Regions from separate parts of the Homo sapiens genome. Here regions 1 and 3 are each linked to region 2. Evidence: promoter capture Hi-C in 16 types of primary human blood cells and fetal thymus (Javierre and others, 2016). All regions are on one chromosome and are shown on one strand. Each heading gives the region's core, a stretch centred on a gene start or on the middle of the fragment in contact. The rest is flanking DNA. Distances are from core to core; before and after follow the strand shown.

Region 1 (4,438 bases), core at 1,636-4,135, 260 kb after region 2:
CACAACTGACCCCGCAGTTACAAACTAGTATAGCATTTGTGCTGATTGATGATAGACTCATGGACTTCAGGAGCCCTTACTTGGTTTTGATCAGTGTAGCAAATTAGGGATGAAGAGTTCAAACCTTTTGGCCCTTTCTTTCTTTTCTAGGCTTCTCCCTCGCAGGGTGTTCCGTAGTTTCTTCTCGAGCCAATGCATGTATTATAGCAGCAGGTGTCTTTGTGCTTTCTCATCATAGTAACGTACTACTTGTAAATACATTTTTCTATTTTCTATTTTTTTGTATTTTTTTTTTTGACATTTTGTTTCATTGGTGTGCTGTATATTTTCCATGCCCTCACTCCTTTAAGAAAAAAAAAAAGGAAAAAAGCAACACAATCCTGTCCTTGCTGTTGTGATTATAGTCTTGGTTTACCTGTGGTGACAACCGGGTGTTGGGGACACATGTCAAATGCCCCTCTGAGATGGGCCCTAAATTCCAGTAACTGGGGAAAGAACCAGCTGCTGTGTCCTGAGAGCCTGGCCCTGTGCTGTGGTCTCTGCTGCAAGCCCAGATTTCTGGGAGTAACTAGTGTTAGGTCTGCTGACCTTTACCTAAGCAGCCCCTGCCTGGTAAGAAGGTGCCCATTGTTCAGAGGCAAAGAGAAGCCTGCGGTTGGCATGAGGATGCCTGACAACAAAGGCTGGAGAAGGGCCCTGAGTTCCAGCCTCTCCCCAAGGGTCCCCGCCCCAGTGGCTGCCTCTGTCTTGACCTGTGTAATGAATTAGTGTGCTGTGTCACTGTGGCTTGAAGTCACTGTGGATCGAGCTCACAGGGGGCACCCATCCTGTTGTCAACAGAGTCTGAAGCAGTCAGGGTGTTGGATTCCTCTGTTGTTGTCATCAATTCCTGCTGAGGGGTTTCTGGGGTTTTGTTTTTAATAAATGACTCCTTTGTAGCCTTTGTCACATAATCTTCACTTTGGTTGTTGGTACCAAACAGAGCTCCCAGCCATCTCCTCCCTGTTCTGGAAGACTGATGGGAAGACTCTGTCTGTCCCCAGACCTGGTCATCTGCAGCTCTGGCCCAGTCATAGATACATCAAAGAACTGAAGCTTCTGCTGTCCACAGAACTCAAAACTGCCTCTGCATTGGGTGAAGACTAAAAATCCACTTGCGGACTCTCCCTTCCTTCCTTCTCAGCCCTCGAGGATGCATATAGCTAATTAAGCAGGCCCAGAGACAGAGAGGGGGGCTCCAAAATGACTCGGATTAAGGGCAAGTGCCAGTGATGGGTAGAAATAACGTTATCCTTCATGCCTGTAATCCCAGCACTTTGGGAGGCCGAGGCAGGTGGATCACAAGGTTGGGAGCTCGAGACCAGCCTGGCCAACATGGTGAAACCCCGTCTCTACTAAAAACACAAAAATTAGCTGGGCATGGTGGCAGGCGCCTGTAATCCCAGCTATTTGGGAGGCTGAGGCAGAAGAATCGCTTGAACCTGGAAGGCGGAGGTTGCAGTGAGCAGAGATTGCGCCACTGCACTCAAGTCTGGGCGACAGGGTGAGACTCCATCTCAAAAAAAAAAAAAAAAAGGAAATGTTATCCTGGCAGTGGGTCATTTTAATTTTTCTGTCTTTGTTTTCATAAGAAAATTAAATTCCAGACAGAAGGAACGTCGTTATTTTGTCATTCTCACTTCTGTGCAGGTTTTGGGGGGAAATACCCACACAGGGCTGTGAATGCACCCTGGATTCCAGTTGCTAATCTTCAAAGCCCTTAAAACACTCCCTTAAAACTTTGGCAGAGAAACAGCAAATACTCTACTCGTCTCGGAGGGTTGAGTGGGTGGCTGCAGTTAAAGCACACATTAGACTTCCCTTCCAGTGCTCGTTTGCTCCCCGCTGCCTGATACACTTAGGTCCGCCTCTTATTCTGTTTTCTCAAATACCATGGTTTAGGGGTTTTCTAGGAAGTCTGCTGCATTAGGCATGGCATGCTCATGAAATTTCAGCAGATTCCTTCCTCACTGATCTGAAGTCCTTTTTCCTCACAAAGAGACTGTGTGTTACTAGAACTCCCGCTTTTTAATAACTCTTTTTTCTAGTTTGAGCTAATGAAGATATGACAGTAAAGTCTGTCCAAAGCCTAGTGTGTTCCATTGCTGTTATTACAGTGCATACGCTTTCTGAATGTGACAGTGACAGCTCCCCGCATAGGAACGGTTCGGTGGCTTGGGACTAAGCTACTGTCTGAATTACTTTTGTAGCAGGCTCACAGGCCTTGGGTAAACAGGTAAGTTAGGTCACCCACAAGAAAAACAAAAGTACTCGTTCTCTGTGAGGGTGGAGGGGAAGGGAGTTCCATTTTGCCAATCAAGTGTTAAAAATAGAACCTGCTGTGTCTGCTTAGCAGCTCTCACGTTACTGCTCACCAGATCCCATGTTGTGTGTACGTTTCTGTTTTGTAAAGCCTAGCGTTTACGTCAGAGCCTGGGAATGCAGCACTCGTGTCTATACATGGGAGTACATGCCTTAGGGACATCATTTATACAACCCCCTTCTCTACAGAGCTATGTCAGCGGTACAGGCTCAGAAGGAAGCCATCTCGGTCTCTTTCTGGTCTTCAGTGCACAGTGGCCAGGACAGCCTCCCCCACTTCACCGAATCACATTTCTTCAGCAGTTTCCAACAGTGAAATCATTTCTAGGACAATGGCTGCTAACACGTGTCAGCTGAAGCACTGCAGATCGAGTCATCCAACTCAAGCTTCTTCCTCTTATTGGAAGGGATAAACCAGGTAAGACTTTTTAATCCAGAAATTATTCCTATTCCCTGCAATGTATAGGGTGCTTTCTATCTGCAAAACTCTAAACTCAAATTTCTGCAGGTTCAGATTCCAACTGTCTCATGCGCAGAGACTCTCCCATCACAAAATTCTTCCCGCTCCAGCCATCATCTGTTTCCTCCTCAGCCTTTCCCTTGAAATCCAGAGCCCTTTCCTGTCCGTTAGAGGCAATCAGTCATGTTTCAGTGAAGCTTGAGGCACTGGGCCCCCCAGTGAACAAAACCAGACATCCTGACCCCCTACTCCTGCGGTCTGTGCAGGGCTTGCTTTAGCATGCTTGGCTTGTGGGGAGGGGGTGTGGCAGCCATTCCCACACAAGGTCACGCAGGGATGCCACAGTGCGTTCAAGAGTAGAATCCACAGCCTTCTCTCCGTAACTCTGGGCCTTGCTGTAAATAGCAGAGGCTTGGGCTGGGGATCCTGTATCACTGGACGGGATGTGCCAATGAAGAGAAGGCTGAGAAGCAAGTTGGTGTAGGAGAAGCCCAGTGCTCCTGGTGGACACAGGCCTGCATTCAACCAAATGTCTGAAGACAAGCGAAAGCCTACAGCCCCAAGCGCAATGATCTTTCGTCACTACAGGTTTCAGAAGTCTTACCGCACGGAGCCAGTGGTTAGCAGGTGCTTGATACAAACATCCTGCAGGGAGGCTGTGAAGATTCTAACTGCAGCACTTACGGAGGAGCACTTTAGCGTGCGGTAGATTTCCTAGATAACCTGAGGTCTTAAGAATTCATGCGGCAGACTCCGCTTCGCTTCTGGTTCCTTTCATTTGGAGTCTGCCTAACCAGTTTTTCTCTTAAGTTCCAAGACATCTTCTTCCTGTTGAGTAGAACCTGTAAAACACGCCACCTGTCTGCAGGCGAACAGAGGCTCTGAAGGTTCCAAAATAGCTAAGCCCACGAGCTGTCTCCAGCCCCCATGGAGTCCTGGGATTCTCACCAGATCCAAAGATGACAGGAATGGGAACCAGTTAGGCAGAGGAAGCAAGACTTGAGAGACTGGGAGTGGGGAAGCCGCCAGGCAGTGGGCAGCAGGCCTGCGCTTGTGAGGAATGGGAGACAGGAAGTGGGTGTCCACAGGACAGAGACGGAGGGGGACAGCACGATGGTCACTGCATTCAACCAAATGTCTGAAGACAAGCGATCCAGCCCCGGGATCCCGACACCAGTTGCTCTGTCTCACCAGAGAGCCTCTCTCCAGGCGGACCACCTGTCAGCCTGCTACTGCCACCTTTCACTCTGCCCACCTGGAGCTGCTGGAGTGTAGCCACCACGTGAGCTTCTAGCTTTTGTGTTTGAGCCTTTGCCATTAGAGATTGAATTTCCTCACACCTGCGGTTGCTGTCGTGCCTTGATGGGGTTTTTATCCCCAGGCAGATAGTAACATATCCTGTGACAGCTCCCTGGGGAAGGCGGAAACCAATTTCAGAGAAAGAGGCTGAGCGCTTGCTAGTGCAGGGAGGAACTAAGATGACGAAGCATCGCACGGATGAGTCGTGGCCTTGCCGGCTTGACGGCGGGTAGAATGCAGTGCCACCCTCCCCAAGACCACCATCTGGCCAGGAGCCCCGGCCCCACCTTTCCTCCTTCGCTTGTGCCTCCTGGCACT
Region 2 (4,351 bases), core at 53-2,552:
TTCTGGAATAAACGCTTTATTTTGGAGAGTCAGTCTCTCTGTTATTTATTTTATGGTGTCAATTTTAACATATGAATTTTGGAGGAACACATTCAGACCATATCAGTCACCTTCCTCTTCTTTGAAATAGAAAAAGCTCAAGGCCAGAGAGTTTATTTTAGTAAAGTTTTGACATACCTGTCTTCAAAGATAAAACATGAAACAGCATTCCACACACAAAAGTAAAGTGATTTTGTTCATCCTTCACTGTGAGGTATTTTAACCACAGAGATTCTAATTTTTTGGTCTTGGATGGGTCCTGGGAGTCAGTATTGCCTGGCTAATTTTTGTATTTTTAGTAGAGATGGGGTTTCACCATGTTGGTCAGGCTAGTCTCGAACTCCTGACCTCATGATCTGCCCGCCTCGGCCTCACAAAGTGTTGGGATTACAGATGTGAGCCACCGTGCCCGGACAGGATTCTGCATTTCTCTTTTTTTTTTTTCGAGACAGAGTCTCAGTCTGTTGCCCAGGCTGGAGTGCAGTGGCACGATCTTGGCTCACCTCAACCTCCACCTCCCAGGTTCAAGTGATTTTCCTGCCTCAGCCTCCTGAGTAGCTGGGACTACAGGTGCGTGCCACCATGCCCAGCTAATTTTTGTATTTTTAGTAGAGATGGGGTTTCACTATGTTGGCCAGGCTGGTCTCGAACTCCTGACCTTGTGATCTGCCTGCCTCAGCCCCCCAAAGTGTTGGGATTACAGGCGTGAGCCACCGTGCCCAGCCTGGATTCTGCATTTCTAACGAGCTCCCAGGTGTTACCAATGCTGCTGGCTCATGGACTACACTCTTAAGTAGTAAGGCCCTAGGCTATTAAAGGAAATACAGATTCCTGGATTCCACCTATCAGAGATTCTGATTCTGTTAGTATTTTCTGTGAGACCCAAAAGTCTGCAGTTTAACCAGCTCTCTAAGGTGTTTCTTAGGCCCAGCTGGACTGGGAAATTACTAGAATAAATGACATGGAATCAAAACCTGGGAACTAATCCTGGGTCTGTCATTAACTCCTTAGGAGATTCCCATCCCCTCTGGAGATCTGTCATCAAGAAATGATTGGAGAAGTTAATCTCTTAGGCCCTTCTAGCTCTTGCCTTTGAGAACCGCCCACCTCCCCATTCCCACCTGGTATCCCCAACCCAGTACAGTTCATGGCCAATGGCGGTCCAAGTCTTGGAACTACAATCCCCACAATGCCTCGCGCCTCTCCTCTCACGTGACGTCATGAAGGAGGCTTGATAACGGCGGTGTTCTCCACAATCCTTTGCGGTGGTTCAAGATGGCGGCGCCCAGTGGCACAGTGAGCGATTCGGAAAGTAGTAACAGCAGTAGCGATGCGGAGGAGCTGGAGCGGTGCCGCGAGGCGGCAATGCCGGCTTGGGGCTTGGAGCAACGCCCGCACGTGGCAGGGAAGCCAAGAGCCGGTAGGGTACTATGTTTGGGGAGACTGGCTGAGGGGCGTGGGATCTTCCCCTGGAGCCTGAGAGGATGGATGGTGAGGAGAGAGTCACTGGGACTCGGCTTCCTTCCCCGAGAGACCTCCAGGGACTGGGTGTAGTGCAGATTGAAAGCATGGGCAGGTGCAGTAGGGAGGGTATTTCATTATTCCAGTCGGGGAAGCTGAGGTACCCAAATGTCTTTTGATTCTGCCTCCTTGGGTCTATCCTCACTGCCCCACACTGGGAAGGCTGCCGTCTCTTCGAGATAACTGCAACAGCCCCCTCCCGGTATTCTCGCACCCAGCCTTTCCCCACCTCCAACACATTCTCCCACCCTGGAGGTTGTTGCCAAGAGCAGTGCCCAGCACATCACTCTGACCGTGACTCCCTAGTGCCCTGGGAATAAATACAGAGCCCCGCAACATCAAGGGGCCTAATCATGGATAGAACCCAAGGGTTCTTGAATTTGGAATGAAAACATGTTGCATCTTTGCTTTCTATTCATCTCTGACTGAATTTTAGCATCTCTTTCCGTCTTGCAAGCACTAAGCCACAGTAGTTCTGGCAATGCCGTTACTTTATCCCAACAGAAGTCACAGATTTTCATATCTCATTACAATCTTTGCAGATACAGATATCAATATATCATTTTATTGATAAAAAGATATTGGGGAAAAAAGTCATTTACACTCATCCCTGATTTAAAATGTGCCACTCTAATTTTTAGACCCATCTCTATATCTAAGATGTAAGAAGCACATACATCACAAGTTTGGTTGTTTACTATCATGATAATTAAATTTCGGTATCATTGGTTTTCTTTGTAATCCTGTATGTTGCATTTCATGCATTTAAAACATTGCTCTGAGAAGAGAACCGGGCTTCACCAGGCTGTTAGAGAAGGCTATGGCAAAGCAAGGTTAAGAACCGCTGGATTTGTTTAAAAGGACTTACAAGCCCTTTGGTGATCCATTGCCTTCCTCTCCCTTCCTTCCCTCCTGCCATACTGCACTTCCTGTAGGTAGCTTCCAGACCATAGTCTGCCCCTCTCACCCCCTAGTACCATAACCACAGTTTTCTCTGCAAGTTCTATTTACAGATCTGCCTTTCCATCTCATTAGCGGTGGGAACTTGAGCAAAGTACTTAAATCTCACTGTACCTAAATTTCCTCATCTGTACAGTGCGGGTAGTGATAGTACCCACCCCATAAGGTTGAGAAGTAACTGAGATAATGCAATCTACAGTGCTTGGCACATCTTAAAGGCCCAATACATGGTGGCAAATATGTGGTTGGTCTTTCCACATGGACTGCTTTCCTCCTCCTGCCTAATTCTCGCTCTTTTTTTTTTCAAAACTAGGACTCAGTCTGTTACCGAGGCTGACACAATCATGGCTCACTGCAACCTCGACCTCCCCCTACTCAGATGATCCTCCCACCTCAGCCTCCCAAGTAGCTGAGACTACAGATGTATAGTCCCAGCTACTTTTTGTATTTTTTGTAGAGATGGGGTTTTGCCATGTTGCCCAGGCTGGTCTCGAACTCCTGGGCTCAAGTGATCCTCCCTTCTCAACCTTCAAAGTGCTGAGATTACAGGTGTGAGCCACTGTGCTCGGCTTCTAGTTTTTTTTGTTTGTTTGTTTGTTTTTTGGGGTTTTTTTTTTTTTTTTGCATTTTTTTTTTTTGAGATGGAGTTTCACTCTTGTTGCCCAGGCTGCAGTGCAATGGCACGATCTCAGCTCACTGCAACCTCTGCCTCCTGGGTTCAAGTGATTCTCCTGCCTCAGCCTCCCTAGTAGCTGGGATTACAGGCGCCTGCCACCACGCCCAGCTAATTTTTTGTATTTTTAGTACAGACAGGGTTTCACCGTGTTGGCCAGGCTGGTCTCAAACTCCAGACCTCAGGCAATCCACCTGCCTCGGCCTTCCAAAGTGCTGGGATTACAGGTGTGAGCCACCGCGCCTGGTCTCTTTTTTTCTTTTTGAGACGCAGTCTCGCTCTGTTACCAAGGCTGGAGTGCAATGGCGCGATCTTGGCTCCCTGCAACCTCCGCCTCCCAAGCTCAAGCAATTCTCCTGCCTCAGCCTCCTAAGTAGCTGGGATTACAGGTGCCCACCACCAGGCCCAGCTAATTTTTTTTTATATTTTTATTAGAGACAGGGTTTCACCGTGTTGGCCAGGCTGGTCTCGAACTTATGACCTCAGGTGATCCGCCCACCTTGGCCTCCCAAAGTGCTGAGATTACAGGCATGAGCCACCACACCCAGCCTAGATTACATTCTTGAGTGCGTCTAGTAATAGCCACCAGGAGTTGAGAATTTTCTTTTTGCCCCTGTTCTAAACACTTTGTATTTGTTGTCTGTTTTCATCTTCCCAGCAATGCCACAAGAGGGTGTATTAGCCCCATTTTACAGAAAACTGATTCTCATAATGGTAAAATAACTTGGCCAAGGTTGTCCAATTTGTGAGTGGCAGAACCAGGCGTAAACCCAGGCCTACCTGACTCCCAAGTCCATGCTCTTCATTGCTGCTGTGCCACTCTGCCATGGACAAGTGTCTATTGTGGTCAAAACTCCCACCCTTTGGTCCATGACTGTGGAAATATAGGTCACTATTTTATTTATGTAACCTCTAGAGACAGCTCTTAAATCCAGTGATGAACTCGTCACTCAAACCACTTTAATTTTAGGGTAGCATCTACTTTGACTTATTTTTCTGACAATTAATTCAAACCAAGACACTATGGCAGGATCTGGGGATACAGAGGTAAAAAGAGGCAGACCACGTATTCAAGTAGCTTACAAATCCAGGAAGGGGATGGGTATGGAAACAGCGTCCACAACACTGACTCCAGAAGGTTGGTAATCGTATTCCCAT
Region 3 (4,616 bases), core at 1,479-3,978, 220 kb after region 2:
AGACTTTTATCCTAACGACCTTCATAAAGAGGATATAATGTTAAGTTCATTCATCTCACAGTAGGCATTCAAATAAGTGTTTGTTGAATGAATTGTAGTACCTTCAATATAAGTTGGTGGCATTGCATGAAAATGTATTTCAGCAAAAGCAGTTTTGCCAAAATTGAAGGTGCACAGTGGGCAACAGGATGTTGTTGTTTAGATAACCATCTTACTGCTAAGTGTGGTCTAAGGTTATATTTTGGAATATCTGGAGAATGAATGGGCTGTTAATTCTTAAACTGGTTATTCTTGAATGTTGATCTGTTAATAAATATTGGTAGCAGACCAGGCACGGTGGCTCACGCTTGTAATCCCAGCATGTTCAGAGGCCAAGGTGGGAGGATCACGTGAGGTCAGGAGTTCCAAGACCAGCCTGGCCAACATGGTGAAACTCCATCTCTACTCAAAATACAAAAATTAGCCAGGCGTGTTGATGCATGCCTGTAATCCCAGCTACTCAGGAGGCTGAGGCAGGAGAATCGCTTGAACTGGGAGGCAGAGGTTGCAGTGAGCCGAGATTGCGCCACTGCACTCCAGCCTGGGCCACAAACTGAGACTCCATCTCAAAAAGGAAAAAAAAAAAAAATATATATATATATATACACACACACACACACACATATATGTGTATATATATACATATATATGTATATATATACACACATACATACATACATACATATATAAAAGCAGCAGCCCAAAAATGTATTATGTTGCCAGCTAAATACAGACCTAGTTGTCTTAACAGCACTCATGGTGCATTCGTATTTTTATCAGAATGAAGGAACCTAATACCTAAATATAAGCCCATGTTTCCCCTTGTCCTGAGGCAGGCAGTGGAAGTTCCTAAAGGCAGGCCTAGAATCTTCCTCAGAAAATCCTTTTTAATCCACTCTAGGACATAAAGAAATGAGTAGTTGATTTCCTAAAGTTCTGTTCCTTGCAACTGAATTAATTCTAGCCTGAAACAAATTTAGGGCAAATATAACCAGATCTCTACCTCAGCCACACTAAAATCTTATTAAGGCACTCACAGAATATTAATATACTTCTTGATATAGTGTCTGTAATAAACTTCATGTGAAATGTACATCAAAGTGACCAAAACACCAAACTGGAATTTATACTTACACCCAATTTAAAGTTGAAGAATGTTGATGAGTTGTCATTCTAACTGACACTAATTAGCTGACAGGGTCAGTGGCCATCTGGACCTTACCCAGTTCAAGGCTAAACCATATCATTCACCTATAAAGCCTGCTGGTCTTAATATTTCTCTGTAGTAAGACAGCTCATGTGCAGCTTATCTAAAAATGATACCAGATCAAGTTTACTTGGGGAGAAATACTCTGTAGGTTTTTTTGTTTGTTTGTTTTTATGAGAAAAAAGCAGTATATACTAATGTGGAAAGATGTAGCGCGTCAAGCAGTGAGCCCATTACTTGGTGTAACAGGGCCAAGGGAAAACTTCCTCTGTGCCCCCTGAATCCTCGCTGAAAAATCCACTGACAAATAGCAGATTAATAGAAAAGGCATACAGATTTGTTAATGTGCACAAAAGTCTTACAAAATATAAGATCTCAAAAAAAAAAAATGGCCAGATGGCTGATGCTTTTATACCACCTTGAGGTTACAGAAAGAATGAGGGCTTGGAGTGTGGCAAGACAGGTTATGGTGGTAAATCAGGTTATGGTGGTGAGACAGATTATGAGAGAGAGAGAAGAGGAGGCCCAGCTAGCACAGGTGGTCCTGTCATGTAGATGAAACCTCACAGGTCGCAGCCCTGAGAGAGAATAGATGGAATATGTTTCTTTCTGACCTTCTAAGGTGTCAGACTCTCAATTAATCTTTCCTGTGTCTGGACAAGGTAGGGCCTCAGAGAAATGCCTCCACCTCATCAATGCATATTTTCTCTACAGATGCAAATCTGCCCCACACAGCTTCTCTCAGCTATTCTTGTATTTCCAGCCCTTCTGAAAACCATCTGAAATATGTCAGAGAAGTATATTTTTGGGTGAAATATTTTTGTTTCCTTCATAATTTTGCCAAGGCAGCAGGCATAAGCTGGAATTTGTGGTCACCCCACTCATGGAGTTTTTCTGTGAATCAAAAGAAACCTTGCCTGTAAAGCACCTAGCAGTGCCTGACAGTATGAGCTCAATCAAGCTTAACTATTATCATCATTTTAACCCCCTGGATGTTCTCAGCTGCTGAGTCAGAGACTGTTTCTTCCTGCCCAGGTTCTTAGTCTTTCTTTCTTAGTGTAGGTTCTATGTAAGTATCAATAATTGGACATTTGTTGACCTCCTACACCTTGACCCATAACTACTTCCTGTTCAGTCATAGTTGATGAAAAGACAAAAAAAAATAGCATATAATATGCTATAATTTAGATGGATTTTTTTTCTGTGATGGTAAATGGTTGTCTGTGATGAAAAAGCCATAGCTCAAGTCCTTCTGTTGATCATTTAAACATTGATTTCTTTTTCTTGTTTTGTTTTTTGTTTTTTTGTTTTGAGACTGAGTTTCATTCTTTTGCCCAGGGTGGAGTGAAGTGGTGTGATCTCAGTTCACTGCAACCTCCACCTCCCGGGTTCAAGCAGTTTTCTTACCTCAGCCCCCTGAGTAGCTGGGATTACAGGTGTGCGCCACCAGGCCCAGCTAGCTTTTGTATTTTTAGTAGAGACGGGGTTTCACCATGTTGTCCAGGCTGGTCTCGAACTTCTAACCTCAGGTGATCCACCAGCCTCAGCCTCCTGAAGTGCTAGGATTACAAGCATGAACCACCGCACCTGACCTAAACATTGATTTCAGTACCTAGACTTGCAAATAGCCAGGATACAATTTGGATGGAATGTATATTTATAACGTTATATTAACATCATATTATGTTACTGTATAGCAATAACAAGATTGTGAAGGCAGGTCAAGATGGAAGAGAATGAAGAGTAGTCTTCTGTGAAGATGCAGCGAACTGTTCTAGGTCCAACCTAGCAATCTGATGTCTATGCACTTAATAAATTACCAAATAAGCTAAGTTAAAGGCCTATAATTGAAAATAGTCCTGGATAGCTTTGGAGGCAGAGTCTTTTGCAAAGGCTTTATTTAAACAGCTTAAGTTTGCTGTCAGCTGTGCAGTGTGAGTAACTTTACCGGACCCCAGTCATAGTGGCATGGGATCTGCTAAGCCCAGGCCCTTTAAGCTTGTTGTATAAAGCTGGAAGATATGAATCTTCCCAGCTTGAGCTAATAGGTAAGGCCCTACTAACTCACTGTGCCCCATTTCTGTTTTGTGCAGCGGTGACCCATGGTCTGCTTCTAACAACCAAACAAGGCTTGATTTTAGCTAAGCTTGTTTGAGGCAGTGAGAAGTTCAAAGTCTTCTAATTACACAGAGAACTAGAAGAATGCTTGCTCTCCTTACCAGTCCTCCACCCTCCCCCACCATCTGATAGTACCTCATTCCTGCCTAAGGCTTTCCTGTCCCTGCTGCAGTTCTTGTCAGTTAGATGCTAAGAAAATGGACCAGCTAAAACTGGTTTGAAGTTGACCACTACTTTCTGCTACAGAAGATCCCTAGCTTACCAACGGTTTGACTTAATGATGGTTCAACTTAAGATTTTTCCACTTCATGATGGTACAAAGGCAGTATGATTTCAGTAGAAAGCATACTTCAAGTACCCATACAACCATTCTGTTTTTCACTCTCAGTACAGTATTCAGTAAGTTACTTGAAATATTCAGCACTTTATTACAAAACAGGCCTTTGTGTTAGATGATTTTGCCCAACTGTAGGCTAATGTACGTGTTCTGAGCACGTTTAAGGTAGGCTGGGCTAAACTATGATGTTCAGTAGGTTAGATGTATGAATATTAAACGCATTTTGAACTTGAGATTTTTCCACTTACCTGGGCTTATTGGGATATAACTCCATTGTAAGTCAAGGAGCAGCTGTATTTGAAAAAAGGGGAAAATCTTGCCTTAAAACATCCAGGATGGAGTTATAAATAGTTCTCAACTAATAACAAATTGAAATTGAGTTATATAACCCTTCATCCTGTCCCGCGGGGGGTTCTCAGCACCTATTCTCACTAACCCAGTCTCATGGGAGAGGCTCCGTAGCAGCTGTGCCTAGGGTTAAACCAAAGAGATGACTGGCAACCTTCCAATCCAGAATAGCGATATAATGCCAACAGAAAAAGTAAGAGAAGCTGGCAATCTGTGTAGCCCCAAGGGTAGAGATGTAGATAAAAATTCCTGCACATTTAACCTGCTGTCACCAGATTCTGAGAAGCAGAATATAACAAGTGTAGTTATTGTTATTCCATTCATAAGTGAATTTGAAAAACTCAATTTAAATTAATATATGTGTTTCCAAAACATGCCCACAGGGAAGGAGCAGTCTTCATGTTCCATTGACTCCAGAGACGTTCCCATTAAATGCATCACCAACCCTAGAGTTTAGGTCCTGCACATTGTTAGCTCTGCTGTGCGAAAACATGAATTAAAGCTTAAAAGATCATAGAAGTGAAACCATGTACTAGAAACTACCACAGGTGCGTTGGCAGGGGAAAT

The links. Contacts are between HindIII fragments. The CHiCAGO score rates a contact against its expected background, and 5 or more counts as called.
Region 1: a fragment that was not itself captured here is called in contact with the fragment with the promoter of C12orf43 in region 2 in 4 of 17 cell types (M1 macrophages, M2 macrophages, erythroblasts and 1 more); the score reaches 8.6 in M1 macrophages.
Region 3: a fragment that was not itself captured here is called in contact with the fragment with the promoter of C12orf43 in region 2 in 1 of 17 cell types (M1 macrophages); the score reaches 5.4 in M1 macrophages.

The regions. Positions count from the first base shown.
Region 1 is chr12:120,759,732-120,764,169 of GRCh38, reverse strand. SPPL3 (signal peptide peptidase like 3) reads left to right here. Exons shown (of 11, transcript NM_139015.5): 11 at 1-1,660. Among named protein-coding and RNA genes, the nearest start is that of ACADS, 36 kb to the right of the region's middle. RefSeq lists a silencer at 909-1,072. The HindIII fragment of the contact is 270 bases long and covers 2,751-3,020 here.
Region 2 is chr12:121,013,438-121,017,788 of GRCh38, reverse strand. C12orf43 (chromosome 12 open reading frame 43) reads left to right here and starts at 1,302. Exons shown (of 6, transcript NM_022895.3): 1 at 1,302-1,459. The coding sequence starts at 1,315. It also overlaps a transcript of OASL not described here. RefSeq lists a silencer at 1,206-1,399 and enhancers at 1,127-1,636, 1,608-2,123. The HindIII fragment of the contact is 10,275 bases long and covers 1-4,351 here.
Region 3 is chr12:120,798,444-120,803,059 of GRCh38, reverse strand. The region is part of intron 2 of SPPL3 (signal peptide peptidase like 3); the gene reads left to right. Among named protein-coding and RNA genes, the nearest start is that of ACADS, 75 kb to the right of the region's middle. The HindIII fragment of the contact is 1,037 bases long and covers 2,210-3,246 here.